5 separate regions of the Homo sapiens genome follow, and all the other regions are linked to region 1. The links are contacts of gene promoters, found by promoter capture Hi-C in blood cells and fetal thymus (Javierre and others, 2016). All regions are on one chromosome and are shown on one strand. The core of a region is centred on a gene start or on the middle of the fragment in contact, and the rest is flanking DNA. Distances in the headings are between cores, read along the strand shown. Region 1 holds the start of PLS1 (plastin 1). Region 2 overlaps U2SURP (U2 snRNP associated SURP domain containing). Region 3 overlaps U2SURP (U2 snRNP associated SURP domain containing). Region 4 holds the start of PCOLCE2 (procollagen C-endopeptidase enhancer 2). Region 5 overlaps PCOLCE2 (procollagen C-endopeptidase enhancer 2).

Region 1 (2,554 bases), core at 25-2,524:
CAATTTGTTTTTTCATTTACATGTTGTTGGACAGTTGGGTTCCTTCTGGTTTGGGGCTTTTGTGAAAAACAGCTGCTATGAGCATTCCTGTTCAAGTTTTTGTGTAAGCATATGTTTTAATTTCTCTTGGATAACATCTAGGAATGAAATGGCTGGGTCATATGTTAGATGTATGTTTACCTTTTAAGGAAATATTTTGCTTTATTTTGTGAGAACTTACTTAACTCCCCTTGCATATCTAGATAAATAAGTATCAGATAAGGATACTAAATTTACCAGATTCTCTAGGTGGCAGGTGGGAAAAATCAGATAAGAATACTAAATTCACCTGATTCTCTAGGTGGCAGGTGGGAAAAATTCCTTATCTTCCCTCTCCATGGCCCACCTACTTTCATAGTTCATTGCTCGTCCAATTTGTTTGAGTTCTTAAAATAATTTCAACTTCCCCCCTTTATTTTTTCTATTGTTACCATCTCAGGGTTGGTTGGGTGCCTATTCTGTATTGGATATTGTGTTAGGCGCAGAAGGGGCACGTGGGACTTTGAGTTAAAGGGGCAGCAAAACCTTGTTCTGTTCTCTGGACTGAGTTGGACAGACCACAACTACGGATTATGCTTCAGGCAAAGTATGTGAGAACTCTTGAGGCAGCATTCCATTTACCTGACTCACATGCGAGAGAAAATATCCCACTTTTGTTTGAGTGTGGGCTTTAGTTATATATTTATTTTAATCAGGTGTGGCTGTTAAAGGAAAAGGAAGCAATCCGTGAAACAAACGGAAAAAAAAAGAGTAGGGGAGAGAAACAAGTCTTCCTTTAATAACGTATACCTTTCCTTTTGACCAGCAGGTCCCAAAGTGTGGTACCCAGACTAGTAGCACCAGTTTTCGCTGAGAACATGTTAGAAATGGGAACTGTCGCGCTACGCTCCAGACCTAACTGAATCGGAAACTCAGTTTCCGGGTTTGGGATCTGTGATTTAAAAAGCTCTCCAGGTGATTCTGATCCACGCTCAAGTTTGAGAACTGCTGTGCTAAACTCATTCCCAGGGTGTAGGTGGTCATCTTTAGACTTGGGTAACTGTGGGCGGTAGAGATAACGTTGCCGCAGCGCCCGTCCACCTCTCCCCATCCACGCTCCCAGCGCCTGCAACTCCTCTTTCACCCTTAGCCTAAACCCAGGTTCTGGGCTTCCCTTTCCCTCCCCTGGGAGCCGCAGGCAAAACGCGGCAAGTGGATTCAGAGTTTGCGGGCCCGGGTGCCGGCCGAGCATGCGCAGTGGCGCGAGCGCAGCGGCTACGCGGGCGCGGAGAGGTAGCCGCAGAGTGGACCTGCAGGTACTTGGATCTCCAGTGGGAGCTGCCCTCTCGAAGGCAGGACAGCGGTGGCGGCAGGTACGCGGGGGTGGGGATAGGGCCCAAAAGGAAGGCTGGACAGACAGATGGAAAGCGAAGCGTTACTCCTTTGGGGGCGCGCGGCGGCTCGGGGGCAGTATCTCCGGGTCCCCTCGCTCGCGTCTCGTCTCCTGGCTGTGCAGTGTGGCGCCCGCCGTCCTCTGGGCACGCTTCTGCCCAGTCCCGGCAGGCAGTGCCCGCAGGTGTTAAATCGCGTATTTACACTGCTTAAACAATAAGCCTGTTAACTGAATTGTGATTCTATGCAATGAAATAAGGTATTTCATTAAGTTTTCTTCTTTCAACTTTGGGTGGCTGCCGGTGAGGCTTTCTGAACCAGCCTGTTTTGTTTTAATTCTGGGACTGGTTTATTTGCCTTTGGCCTTTTGGTGCATAGGATCAATAGGGCTGTAGTGAAATCCCATCCGTGCTGTTTTTGGTACCTTTCCTGGAGCATAGGGACCTCTGGATGCGGCATAAAAATGTCAGTTTTCAGCGAATTTCACTGCCAAAAAACTTTCCGTGTTTCAGCTGCATTTTCAAGTGGAGACTTAAAAAAATTTAAGATTTCTCCCTAACTTTTCAATTATTACTGTATTTCGGTCTTCATTTGGTACTATTAAAAGGAAGCGGTCGTTTAGATGAGTAACAGAATTCTCACTTTTCCTCCTTTACTTACTTACTATGTCACATTTTATGGCTTATACCGTGATATCTTTCCCTCCAGCCACGGTGTTGGATACACTTGTATGAGGCTTCAGCTGTGCTGCATAAATTTCTTGAAGAACCTGTGAGCCAGAAGCAAAATTTCAGGACAGGGGGCACACACTGAACTTGAAGCAAGTACTTTTACACCCCCCACCACCTTTGTAATCAGCTTTCCTTTAAGTTGAATTATGTAATGAAATTCTATAGTAAAGTGTTAATGTGTAATGTGGAGGCATATATATATATAGAGAGAGAGGTAGTAAGTTTAGGAAGAGGAAATTTTAAGTTCAGGAAGAGAAACCTATATGGAAAGGGAATACAGGTATCCTGCCCCCCTTCATTCCTCCCATGATAAATGTTTTAATGGCAGAAATAATATACAGCTGGTCTAGTTTTGGCTGTAGAGACCTTTGAGGTCAGCCAGTTCAGCTGCTTCAGTTTACAAATGAGAAAAC
Region 2 (2,554 bases), core at 36-2,535, 430 kb after region 1:
TGAAGCTATGATTATGAACAGAGAAATCAACAATCCTATGTTCAGGTGTGCATTTTTTAAAAATTGTGAAATATATGTAACATAAAATTTCCCATTTTAACTATTTTTAAGTATACAGTTCAGTGTCATTAAGTACATTCACATTGTTGTACAACCATCACCACCATCCATCTCCAGAACTTTTTTCATCTTCCAAAATGGAAATTCTTTACCTGTGTAGCAGTAACTCCTCAGTCTTCTAGCCCGTTAGCCCCGGCAACTGCCATTCTACTTTCTGTCTCTTAGTAATTTCATTACTCAGGGTAAACTCACATGAGTATAATCATACAATATTTGTCCTTTTGTGACTAGCTTATTTCATTTAGCATAATGTCCTCAGGATTCATCTGTATTATAGCATGTATCGGGATTTCCTTTTTTAAGGCCAAATAATATTCCATTATATGTATTTACTATATTTTATCTTCAGGCATGCAGTTTAAAACTACTTTTAATTTATTAGAATTAAAAATATTTCCAAGAATAAAGTTGTAAAAGTATGGGATTAGTTCTGCAACGGGATGGGAAGACAGTTTTAGTAATCAGAGTAGAATGTATTGAGGACAATTTTCCATCAGATTTTGATTTGGTTGATTAAATAGTATTGTTTTTAGCATTCTCTAGGAGGAAAATACATTTCATTATGCTTTTCAATGAAGGAATCATAAGTGAGATACAGTTGAACAAATGAGTTTTAAAATAAATTGCTTATCCTCTGAATTGTTACGGTATTCTTAGACACTAGTTTAACACTTAAGTAATGTAAAATCACTGCTTTTGTAATTACATATTGGGAAAATCTCTCCATTGCCAGACACAGTATCTGCCATGTAAGTGTTCAGTGAAAACGATCATAAGACTCATGATGCATGCCTTCTGAGTATTAATGTCAGTCACTAAGGCAGTCTAGGGCTGCAGTAAAGGAATGGGGATAGGTAGCGGGTGGTAGTGGGTGAGATTCTCTTCAGGGATCTTTGTTTTTGTTTTATTTAGAACTAAATAGGCAAATAATATTTCTCATTTATTTATATTTAATTGAAGATAGCTCTTTGTTAAAGAATATGATGTTTAATGTTTGTTTGTTTTGTGTAGGTTCTTATTTGAAAACCAGACACCAGCCCATGTTTACTATAGGTGGAAGCTTTATTCTATTCTGCAGGCAAGTAGAATCAATTACTTTGTTAATTTTGACTCTGAGTAATTAGACCTTTATAATAACTCTAAATGTTTGTTAGGGAGATTCTCCAACTAAATGGCGGACGGAAGATTTTCGTATGTTCAAAAATGGATCTTTTTGGAGGCCACCACCATTAAATCCGTACTTGCATGGAATGTCAGAAGAGCAAGAAACAGAAGCTTTTGTAGAGGAACCTAGTAAAAAGGGAGCACTTAAGGAAGAGTAAGATATTTTTCCTTTCTATTATATATTCAGAAAAGTAACTGTAATGGTTGCTTTAATTAATGGTCTTATTAAGATGTTAACCCTAAAATAAATTTTTTTCACTTGTGAATGTTTAAAATAGTAACATCTTTCATCATGTGCTTTATAATTTTAAACATCCTAACAAGTATAGGTGTGTGTCCTGTTGTCCTTGAGTTTTCTCCTGGTAAAATTAGTGATGATCTCTTAAACATGATTGACTTATTTCTTTAGCATTGGAGTACTTCAGATTCTTACAGAAATTATTGGAGGATCCCTAGAATTCTTGCTTCTCTGAATGCAACATAAAGAAGAAAAACTATTGTGTGGCTAGTGGGATCAGATTGTGGCTATGCAAAGCCGCTACATGATAACTTTCACACTTGATTTGCAGTGTGTGGTGAGCTGTGAGATGGCCACCATGGAAGTATGTGTTGTTATTAGTCTCACTTAACAATTGTACAGTGCAGCTAGCTGGTTTAAGAAGCAAAAACATACTTATTAAATGTTCAGAGGACATCCTGTATACCTCATGGGAAAACATTGGCTAAAAGCATTTTTAGAATATAGAATTAAGTACAGACATACTTAGTTTTATTGCGCTTTGACTTACTGTGCTCTGCAGATACAGTGTGTTTTATAAATTGAAGGTTTGTGGCAACCCTAAGTCAAACAAATCTGTTGTCATTATTTTTCGAACAGCATGTGCTTACTTCATGTCTGTCACATTTTCATAATTCTCACAATAGCTCAAACTTTTTCATTATTATTGTATCTGTTATGGTGATCAGTGATCTTTGATTGTTTTGGGGCACCACAAACTATGGTCATATAAGAAGATGAACTTAATCAAAAAAGGTGTGTTCTGACTGTTCAGTGACTAGCTGTTTTCCCTTAGGCCTCCCTATTTCCTGAGACACAACACTATTGAAATTAGGCCAGTTAATAATCCCACAATGGCCTCTTGAGTATTCAGGTGAAAGGAAGAGTCTCACTTCTCTCACGTTAAATCAAAAGCTAGAATGATTAAGCTTAGTTAGGAAGGCATGTCAAAAGATGAGGTTGGCTGAAAGCTAGGCCTCTTGCACCAAACAG
Region 3 (2,554 bases), core at 19-2,518, 410 kb after region 1:
TTTTCACTTCTTCCTTTTGTATTTTTCTTTTCTTTTCTTTTTTTTTTTTTCCAGAGACAGGGGTTCTTGCTATGTTGCCCAGGCTGGTCTTGAACTCCTGGCCTCGAGCAGTCGTCCCACCTCAGCCTCCCTAGTAGCTGAGATTATAGGCATGAGCCACTCCCTCCAGCAGCTTTTGGGTCCTTTCAAGAGATTTTTTTTTTTTTTTTTTTGAGACAGAGTCTCGCTCTGTCGCCCAGGCCTGCAGTAGTGCTATCTCAGCTCACTGCAAGCTCCGCCTCCCGGGTTCACGTCATTCTCCTGCCTCAGCCTCCCGAGTAGCTGGGACTACAGGTGCCCGCCACCGCACCTGGCCAATTTTTTGTATTTTTAGTAGAGACGGGATTTTGCTGTGTTAGCCAGGATGGTCTTGATCTCCTCTGACTTTGTGATCCGCCCGCCTTGGCCTCCCAAAGTGCTGAGATTACAGGCGTGAGCCACCGCGCCCGGCCGACTTCAGGAGATCTTTAGGCATCATTGGTTTGTGTTCTTCAGTTAAAAATAAAAAGCCAAACTCAAGACAAAGAATACAGTTCAGTTCCAGGTTAGGAAGAGGGAGAAGCTCAGCTTCTGAAGTAGTGCTATATTTACTGTTTACCTTGACTGTTATCTTTAGAAGTTGATGATTATTTTAAAAATTGTGTTAACTGCTGTTTGAACTGTTAAAGTTCCGTGCTGAATGCTATGTAGCTGTAGGTATGTATCAGTGGAAAATGTCTGGTTTGCAGTAAATGTGATTAGTGACATCTTAAGCTAACTGAAATCAGCTGGTGCATTGTCCTACACCGGTGCATTGTGCTACACTATGCTGTTACTGCTCTGTTTGCAAATTTATCAAATTGTGTAATTTTGAAAGCTGACAAAATTGTTACTTTTGAACTGATTATTTTTGTATTAGAGATTATTTAATTTGGTGAATGGTTACGCAAGTGAGATCCTTGAAGATTATAGAGCTTCATCTTTTGATGACTTGGAGTCAGGGAAGAGTTAACTATATGGAAATAGGCAGAATGCCTAGGTTCTTGTATCTTTTGTTTTTAAATCCTAGAAATGATGATTTGGATGTGGTGGCATCAAAGACTACAGAAAGGGTAGCGCTTTCTTAGTTATTCTTTTGGATGCTTATTCTTTCTGGGTGAACTTTAGAATTGTTTTGGCAATTCTTTTGCCCCCTTGCAAATATTTCCCTTTGGAATTTAGAGCGGTTGAATGAAATTGTATTAAATATGTAAAGAAATTTAGGTGTCATTGACATTATCTTAATATTGAATTTTCCCATCCAGTAATATGAATCTTTTGAAAAGGTGGCTTGAGTAACTGGATTTTTCTCGAAGTTTTTGTTTTCTTCACAAGGGTTATATACATTTCTTAAATTGGTTTCTAGATGTTTTTATATTTTTTGTTGCTTTTATGATTAGGATGTTTTTGTTGCTTAGCAAGTTAATACTGGTGTATTGGAAGGCAATTGAGTTTTTTTTGTTACTATTGTTTGTTTTTGATATGGAGTCTCTGTCGCCTAGGCGGTAGTGCAGTGGCGCGATCTCAGCTCACTGCAAGCTCTGCCTCCCGGGTTCACACCATTCTCCTGCCTCAGCGAGTAGCTGGGACTACAGGCGCCTGGCTAATTTTTGTATTTTTAGTAGAGATGGGGTTTCACCAGGTTTGGCCAGGATGGTCTCCATCTCTTGATCCACCCGCCTCGGCCTCCCAAAGTGCTCGGATTACAGGCGTGAGCCACTGCACCTGGCCCAGGCAGTTGATTTTTTTCAGTCCCTTCAGCCTCTTGCCTGAACTTGTTTTTCTTTTGTAAGAGTAGTTATTTATTCTTTTGGATTTTTAAATTTCTAGATATTTGTAAATTTATGCATTTCAAGATATGTTTCAGGGTGTGTTTCATAGTTAATAAATACTAAAAATTTTCTTTTATACCACCTTGACATTTAAGAAAGATTAGCCGCTAGAAGAAAATCAGGGTGGACACAAAAGTTGGGGACAGAAAAACCATGGACAGAAAGAGTGAGATGGGGCCGGGTGCGGTCGCTCATGTCTGTAATCCTAGCACTTTCAGAGGCTGAGGTGGACAGATCACCTGAGGTCAGGAGTTCGAGACCAGCCTGGCCAACGTGGTAAAACTCCGTCTCTACTAAAAATACAAAAATTAGCCAGGCATGGTGGTGCGTGCCTGTACTCCTAGCTACCCAGGAGGCTGAGGGAGGAGAATTACTGGAACCCGGGAGGCGGAGGCTGCAGTGAGCCGAGGTCGCGCCACTGTACTCCAGCCTGGGAGACAGAGTAAGACTCTGTCTCAAGAAAAAAAAAAAATGAAAGAAAGAATGAGATGGGAGGGGTCCCAGTGCTTGGTTGTCCTGTTGTCCTGGGCTGATTTTTGCCTATGCTAATGCGCAATACAGTGGAGTTCAGAGGAGTAAATTGATTCAGTGTAAAAATCTTACCAGCTGTTCTTAGCCTTATGTCTGGACAATGTAAATAAAACAATACTGTATGGATCTTTGCT
Region 4 (2,554 bases), core at 24-2,523, 290 kb after region 1:
TTTGAAACATGGTCTAACAATCTGATGTTACCTTCAGAAAGGTGTAGCCTATTAATATAAATAAAAGTTAATGTTGATTAATCAATGCTTGCACCATATAAGGGATCTGAAAATTTGCTAGCTCCTAGAATATTTAAATTATAGCCTGACAAAGCATTCAGTCCAGCGCCATCTGTCTCCATCATAATAACACAAGATTATATATATGTATAATCAAGTCCTCGGCATTGTGGCAAAGTCTTGTAGGAAAATGGTAAATACATCAATTTAACTGGGGGAGTGGGAGAGAAGGTAAGAGCCAGGCTGAATGAGAAGCATGGTTTTAAAGAAAGACAGGCAAGCAATTGGTTAATATAAAAAAAGTTTGTCGTTCCCATATTTGGAGAGATGCCCAGTTCTCCTCCCCCTTTCTGAAAATCACTCGCCATTGGCAGAGCTTCCCATCGAAAGGGAGGCTGATGTTGATGGAGGCTGAAGAGGTGATGCCAAAGTTGGCCACCGGGCAGGTCCCACAGCCCAGCTCCTGGGGCCTTCCAGAGGTTGGCGAAGAGTTAACTTTCCGGAGCGGCTCCCTAGGCGCCGCGCCGCTAGGGTTGTTCCCTAGTTTACGTCTCTGGGCAAAGCCTCTCGGGGAAGGAAAAAAAACAGCGGTAAACCAAAATCCACATATTTGGGCCCCAGTGCTTCCCTCTGGCCCCATAGACACGAGGAGAGGGGAGACACAAGTCAGATTAAGCCCCGCCACGTGGTGGCCAAGCCAGCTGCAGGGCCATCCGGCAGGCCGGGCTGGGGACCCAGGAGGGAGCCCCGCGAGCAAGGATGGGTCCCGAAGTCCCGGGCTTAGCCTACCCGAGGGTGGCGGACGCCTGCACCGCGCGGGAGCGCAGGGTCGAGCGCTGGGTCACCCAGGCGCGCCGAAGCGGGTTGAGTAAAGCAGCAGGCGAGGCTGCAGGGGTGGAGGAAGGGAAAGGAGAGAAAGGGAGCCCGGGCAGGGGTCGCGTTACCTCTCTGGGGACTGCTGCCGCGAGAGCTGGGTGGCGGCAGCCAGCAGCAGGCAGAGTGGCGCCCAGGCGTTCGCGCCCCTCATGGCAGCGTAGACGCTCGGGGTTTGCACCCCACGGCGCGCGCGCCGGCACACACGCCCCTCCGCACCCACCGCGCTCACACCGCCGCTCACACTGGCAGCAGCGCTGGCTCACACCGGCGCTCGGCTGCCCGCGCGCTCCCTCTCACGCGCGCACCGCCGCGGGGCGGCCCAGGTAGCCGGGGGATACGCGGCCGGCAGGGCGGAGGCACTTTTAAAGGCGATTATGGTGCCGTCTGACTCGACGCTTAGTTTCCCCTGAGGAGCTGCTCTGGCAGCCACAGGCCACTGCTGAATATCCCGTTTGTTCTCCGGCGGCAGGAGGGGCGGCTCCGAGGCCAGAGCCGCCCCCTCTCGTGGGGCGGGCGAACGTCTCCTCCCGGCACCCCGGGACCGACGGGTCCTCTCTCGTCCAGCCCTCAGGGACCCCGGGGAGAAGAGGAACCCCTTGCGGAGTGGCACCCCAGCGGCCCGGGCCCCGACGCCCAGAGACGATTCTCAGGGAGGGCTTCTGGTTTTGCTTTGGGGAATGTTTTTCCCAGTTGCTTTTAAATAAAAAGTAATAGCGCTTGCTGGCTGCTGGAAAGCCTGGGGGTCCTTCTTTGTCTCCTTCAAAACCCAGATCCAAGGAAAGAAAGGGAAAAGGGATTTTATTGTATTTTAACTTCTGTGCTTATTCTCCTCTCTCTCTCTCTAGATACTTTTCTTTTTTTTACTGGTATGACAATGACAAGGAAGACAGTCTCTGTGCCGGGATTTAAACACGGGTTTTCAGGCGAGCGATTTCTGTGTGAACTGTCATTAAATGTCAGATAATGAAGACGGAACCAAATCAGCAAATCTCACCATCCCATGTCATGTTCTGAAAATGGTGTTTCTCTGCTTGCATCTCTCTGTTCTTAGACCTTTCCAACAGCATCTTTCTGTGGTATTAACGGGTTAAAATTTACGGAGAATTCGTTTTTCTTAGACGAACAATTCTAGCCTTGTGGAATCAATACTCTCTTTTACTTAATTACAGAAATATAATTTTAAACATTTATTTTGTTAAGAGCTTCCCAATAACCAGGGATTAATAAAAGAATGACAGGAACAGACTAGATTCATAGAGATTTTTAATAATCACCAGCTATGGGAGATACAGCTTAACTTTGATGCCTCACGTTGTTCCTTCTAAATTGTTTTCACCTTTCTAAGCAAGAAAATTAAGTATTAAAGTAGTTCTTATCGAGACTTTATTTCTAATAATGAGCTGTTAAGAATCTAAACACGGGTGGGCGCGATGGCCCACGCCTGTAATCCCAGCACTTTTGGAGGCCGAGGCGGGCGGATCACGAGGTCAGGAGTTCGAAACCAGTCTGGCCAAGATGGTGAAACCCCGCCTCGACTAAAAATACAAAAAATTAGCCAGGTGTTGCGGTGTGCGTCTGTAATCCCGGGTACTCGGGAAGCTGAGGCAGAAGTATCGCG
Region 5 (2,554 bases), core at 34-2,533, 270 kb after region 1:
CATAGTGTCTCTGAGGTCCATGTAGCATGAATTAGTACTGCATACCTTTTATGGCTGAATAATATTCCATTGTATGAATATGCCACATATTTATCCATTTACCCTGTTGATGGGTATTTGAAATGTATCTACTTTTGGCTATTATTAACAATGCTTCCATAAACATCTTTGTACAAGTCTTTATGTGGATGTATTTTCATTTCTCCTGCATCTAAAAGTACAACTGCTTGGTCATATGGTAAATGTTTAACTTTAAAAGAAACTGTTTTCCAAAGTGGCTGTACCATTTTACATTCCTACCAGCAGTGTATGAGAGTTTCAACTTCTTTACATCCTCAACAACACTTGCTATTCTCTGTGTTTTTTTTTTTTGTTAAAGTCATCCTAATGGGTATGAAGTAGTAGCTTATTGTGGTTTTGATTGCATTTCTCTAATGACCAATGATGTTGAGCATCTCTTCATGTGCTTATTGACCATTTATACATCTTCTCTAGTGAAATGTCTATTCAAATCTTTTGCCTGTTTTTTTTTTAAATTGTCAACCCTAAAGTACTTTTAAAATACAAACAGAAAAGCATCAAAACTTAACTTGTAATAAAGATGAACATCTGAGTCACACTGCAAAATCTGGTTTCATACATCCATTTTACGCCAAGAGTGAGAGGCAAGGAACCCCTTACAAGCTTGTTTAATGAAGTTACCCCATACAAAATAAGTGAGTTGACAACAACATCTCTTGAAGAATGCATTGGCTAGGAACACTGGTTTCTCACTTTAATTTCTGGATCAGCCATAATTTCTACAGAATATAAAAAGAAACAACATCCTGTGAAGGATGGAGGGCCTCTCACTGCTTTTTAGAGGATAATATAAAAGAGTAAAAATTAAAACACAAGAAGTTTTAGAAATAACTACAAATACAGATATTATGTAGTCAGCAGGCTCATTATATAAATATGTCAACAAAATCAATGTATGGAGAACTTGGAATAATTTGTGTGACTGGATAGGAAGCAAGGAAATGTGGATATAGTCTTTTAATCTAAGGCTTATTTTTCTCTTTTTAAAAAAGTAGTTCACTTAATATGTTGTTAAGTATCACCATAATAACGATGTCTAAAAGACTCCCTGTAAGCAAGAGAAAAATAGTCCGGATAGGCAAACAGATCAATGGAACAGAAGAGAGTCCAGAAATAGACCCACACATATAATCTTTGGCAAAGGTGTCAATGCTCTTCAATAAGTGTGATGGTTGATTTGTATGTGTCAACTTACTGGGCTAAGGAATGTCAAGGTAGCTGATAAAACATGATTTCTGGGAGTGTGTATGAGGGTTTGCCTGGAAGAGACTAGCATTTGAATCAGTAGACTGAGTAAAGCAGATCCATTCTCAACAGTGTGGGTGCACGTCCTCCAATCTGTTGAGGGCCCAAGTAGAACAAAAAGGTGGAGGAAGGGCAAATTCTCTCTCTCTTCTTCCTTGAGCTGGGACATCCATTTTCTCCTGCCCTCGGATATCAGAACTCCTGGCTCTCAGGCCTTAGGACTCCAGGACTTACGCAGAGGCCCTCCTGGTTCTCAGGTCTCTGAACTTGGACTGATTTACACCACCAGTTTTCCTGGTTCACCAGCTTGCAGAAAGCAGATGGTGGGACTTCTCAGCCTCTATAATTGCATGAGCCAATTCCCATAATCAATCAATCAATAATAAATAAATAAAATATTTTGACTGTTTCTCTGGAGTATCTTGACTAATATAATGGGTACAAGAACAGTCTTTTCAACAAAAAATGTTGAAAAATATGAATCATAACCCCATCTCACACCATACATAAATTAACTTGAGATGAATCACAGACATAAATGTAAAAGCTAAAATTATAAGCTTCTACAAAAAACACAGATATATTACAGGAGTTATTAAGAAATTATTTTAGGCAGCTAGAATGGGTAAAAGAGTCTTCAGTAAGGCTTTTTCTTTTAATAAAAAAGCAGCCCCCAAAACATTTCTTTTCTAACAGAAAATGGCCTGAAAAACCAGACCTGCAAGCATTGACAAGCAAGCAGGCTTGCATATGTAAATGCAGGCAGCTAAGAACCAGGTCCACGCAACAGGGCAGTTCCCACTCCCTTTTCTTTGTTGCCGCGTGTGCAGGTAACATTGTGGCCAGACAGGTAGAAGCCATGTGTACAGGTATCATGGCAACCAGCCAGGTAGAAGCCACATTTGCATAATAAAAGGTTAGGGTGGGAGGGCCAGTTTTTTCAAGGGCTATGTGAATGACACGCCTGGTCAAACCAATCCCCTGGGCCCTATGCAAATCAGACACCGCCTCCTCGAGCCTCCCAGTATAACTGACTGTTTTCCACCATATGTGGCAGTTAGACCTCCCTCTGTAGAGGGAGCTGTTCTCTTCTTTCTTGCCTATTAAACTCTCTGCTCCTTAATCCACTCCACGAGTGTGTCCATGTTGCTAATTTTCTTGGTGCGAGATAAAGGACCCTGGGTGTTTCCCCAGACAAGACAGCCATATCAGAAGAATATCTTTGCAA

Evidence for each region. Contacts are between HindIII fragments. The CHiCAGO score rates a contact against its expected background, and 5 or more counts as called.
Region 2: a contact is called between a fragment that was not itself captured here and the fragment with the promoter of PLS1 in region 1, in 4 of 17 cell types (total CD8 T cells, naive CD8 T cells, total CD4 T cells and 1 more). The highest score is 7.0, in total CD8 T cells.
Region 3: a fragment that was not itself captured here is called in contact with the fragment with the promoter of PLS1 in region 1 in 14 of 17 cell types (naive CD8 T cells, total CD4 T cells, total CD8 T cells and 11 more); the score reaches 12.0 in naive CD8 T cells.
Region 4: a contact is called between the fragment with the promoter of PCOLCE2 here and the fragment with the promoter of PLS1 in region 1, in 2 of 17 cell types (M0 macrophages and M2 macrophages). The highest score is 5.4, in M0 macrophages.
Region 5: a contact is called between a fragment that was not itself captured here and the fragment with the promoter of PLS1 in region 1, in 1 of 17 cell types (megakaryocytes). The highest score is 5.0, in megakaryocytes.

What each region holds. Positions count from the first base shown.
Region 1 is chr3:142,595,119-142,597,672 of GRCh38, forward strand. PLS1 (plastin 1) reads left to right here and starts at 1,275. Exons shown (of 16, transcript NM_001145319.2): 1 at 1,275-1,391. PLS1-AS1 (PLS1 antisense RNA 1) reads right to left here. Exons shown (of 4, transcript XR_001740938.2): 4 at 791-2,179. RefSeq lists an enhancer at 1,331-1,570. The HindIII fragment of the contact is 10,696 bases long and covers 1-2,554 here.
Region 2 is chr3:143,027,209-143,029,762 of GRCh38, forward strand. It overlaps U2SURP (U2 snRNP associated SURP domain containing), which reads left to right. Exons shown (of 28, transcript NM_001080415.2): 14 at 1-45; 15 at 1,132-1,198; 16 at 1,275-1,438. Among named protein-coding and RNA genes, the nearest start is that of U2SURP, 27 kb to the left of the region's middle. The HindIII fragment of the contact is 215 bases long and covers 1,179-1,393 here.
Region 3 is chr3:143,007,252-143,009,805 of GRCh38, forward strand. The region is part of intron 1 of U2SURP (U2 snRNP associated SURP domain containing); the gene reads left to right. Among named protein-coding and RNA genes, the nearest start is that of U2SURP, 7.0 kb to the left of the region's middle. The HindIII fragment of the contact is 5,594 bases long and covers 1-2,554 here.
Region 4 is chr3:142,887,810-142,890,363 of GRCh38, forward strand. PCOLCE2 (procollagen C-endopeptidase enhancer 2) reads right to left here and starts at 1,274. Exons shown (of 9, transcript NM_013363.4): 1 at 1,005-1,274. The coding sequence starts at 1,087. LOC124909443 (a long non-coding RNA gene) reads left to right here and starts at 455. Exons shown (of 2, transcript XR_007096122.1): 1 at 455-650; 2 at 1,782-2,554. RefSeq lists a silencer at 1,217-1,266. The HindIII fragment of the contact is 10,419 bases long and covers 1-2,554 here.
Region 5 is chr3:142,864,797-142,867,350 of GRCh38, forward strand. The region is part of intron 2 of PCOLCE2 (procollagen C-endopeptidase enhancer 2); the gene reads right to left. Among named protein-coding and RNA genes, the nearest start is that of PCOLCE2, 23 kb to the right of the region's middle. The HindIII fragment of the contact is 1,202 bases long and covers 683-1,884 here.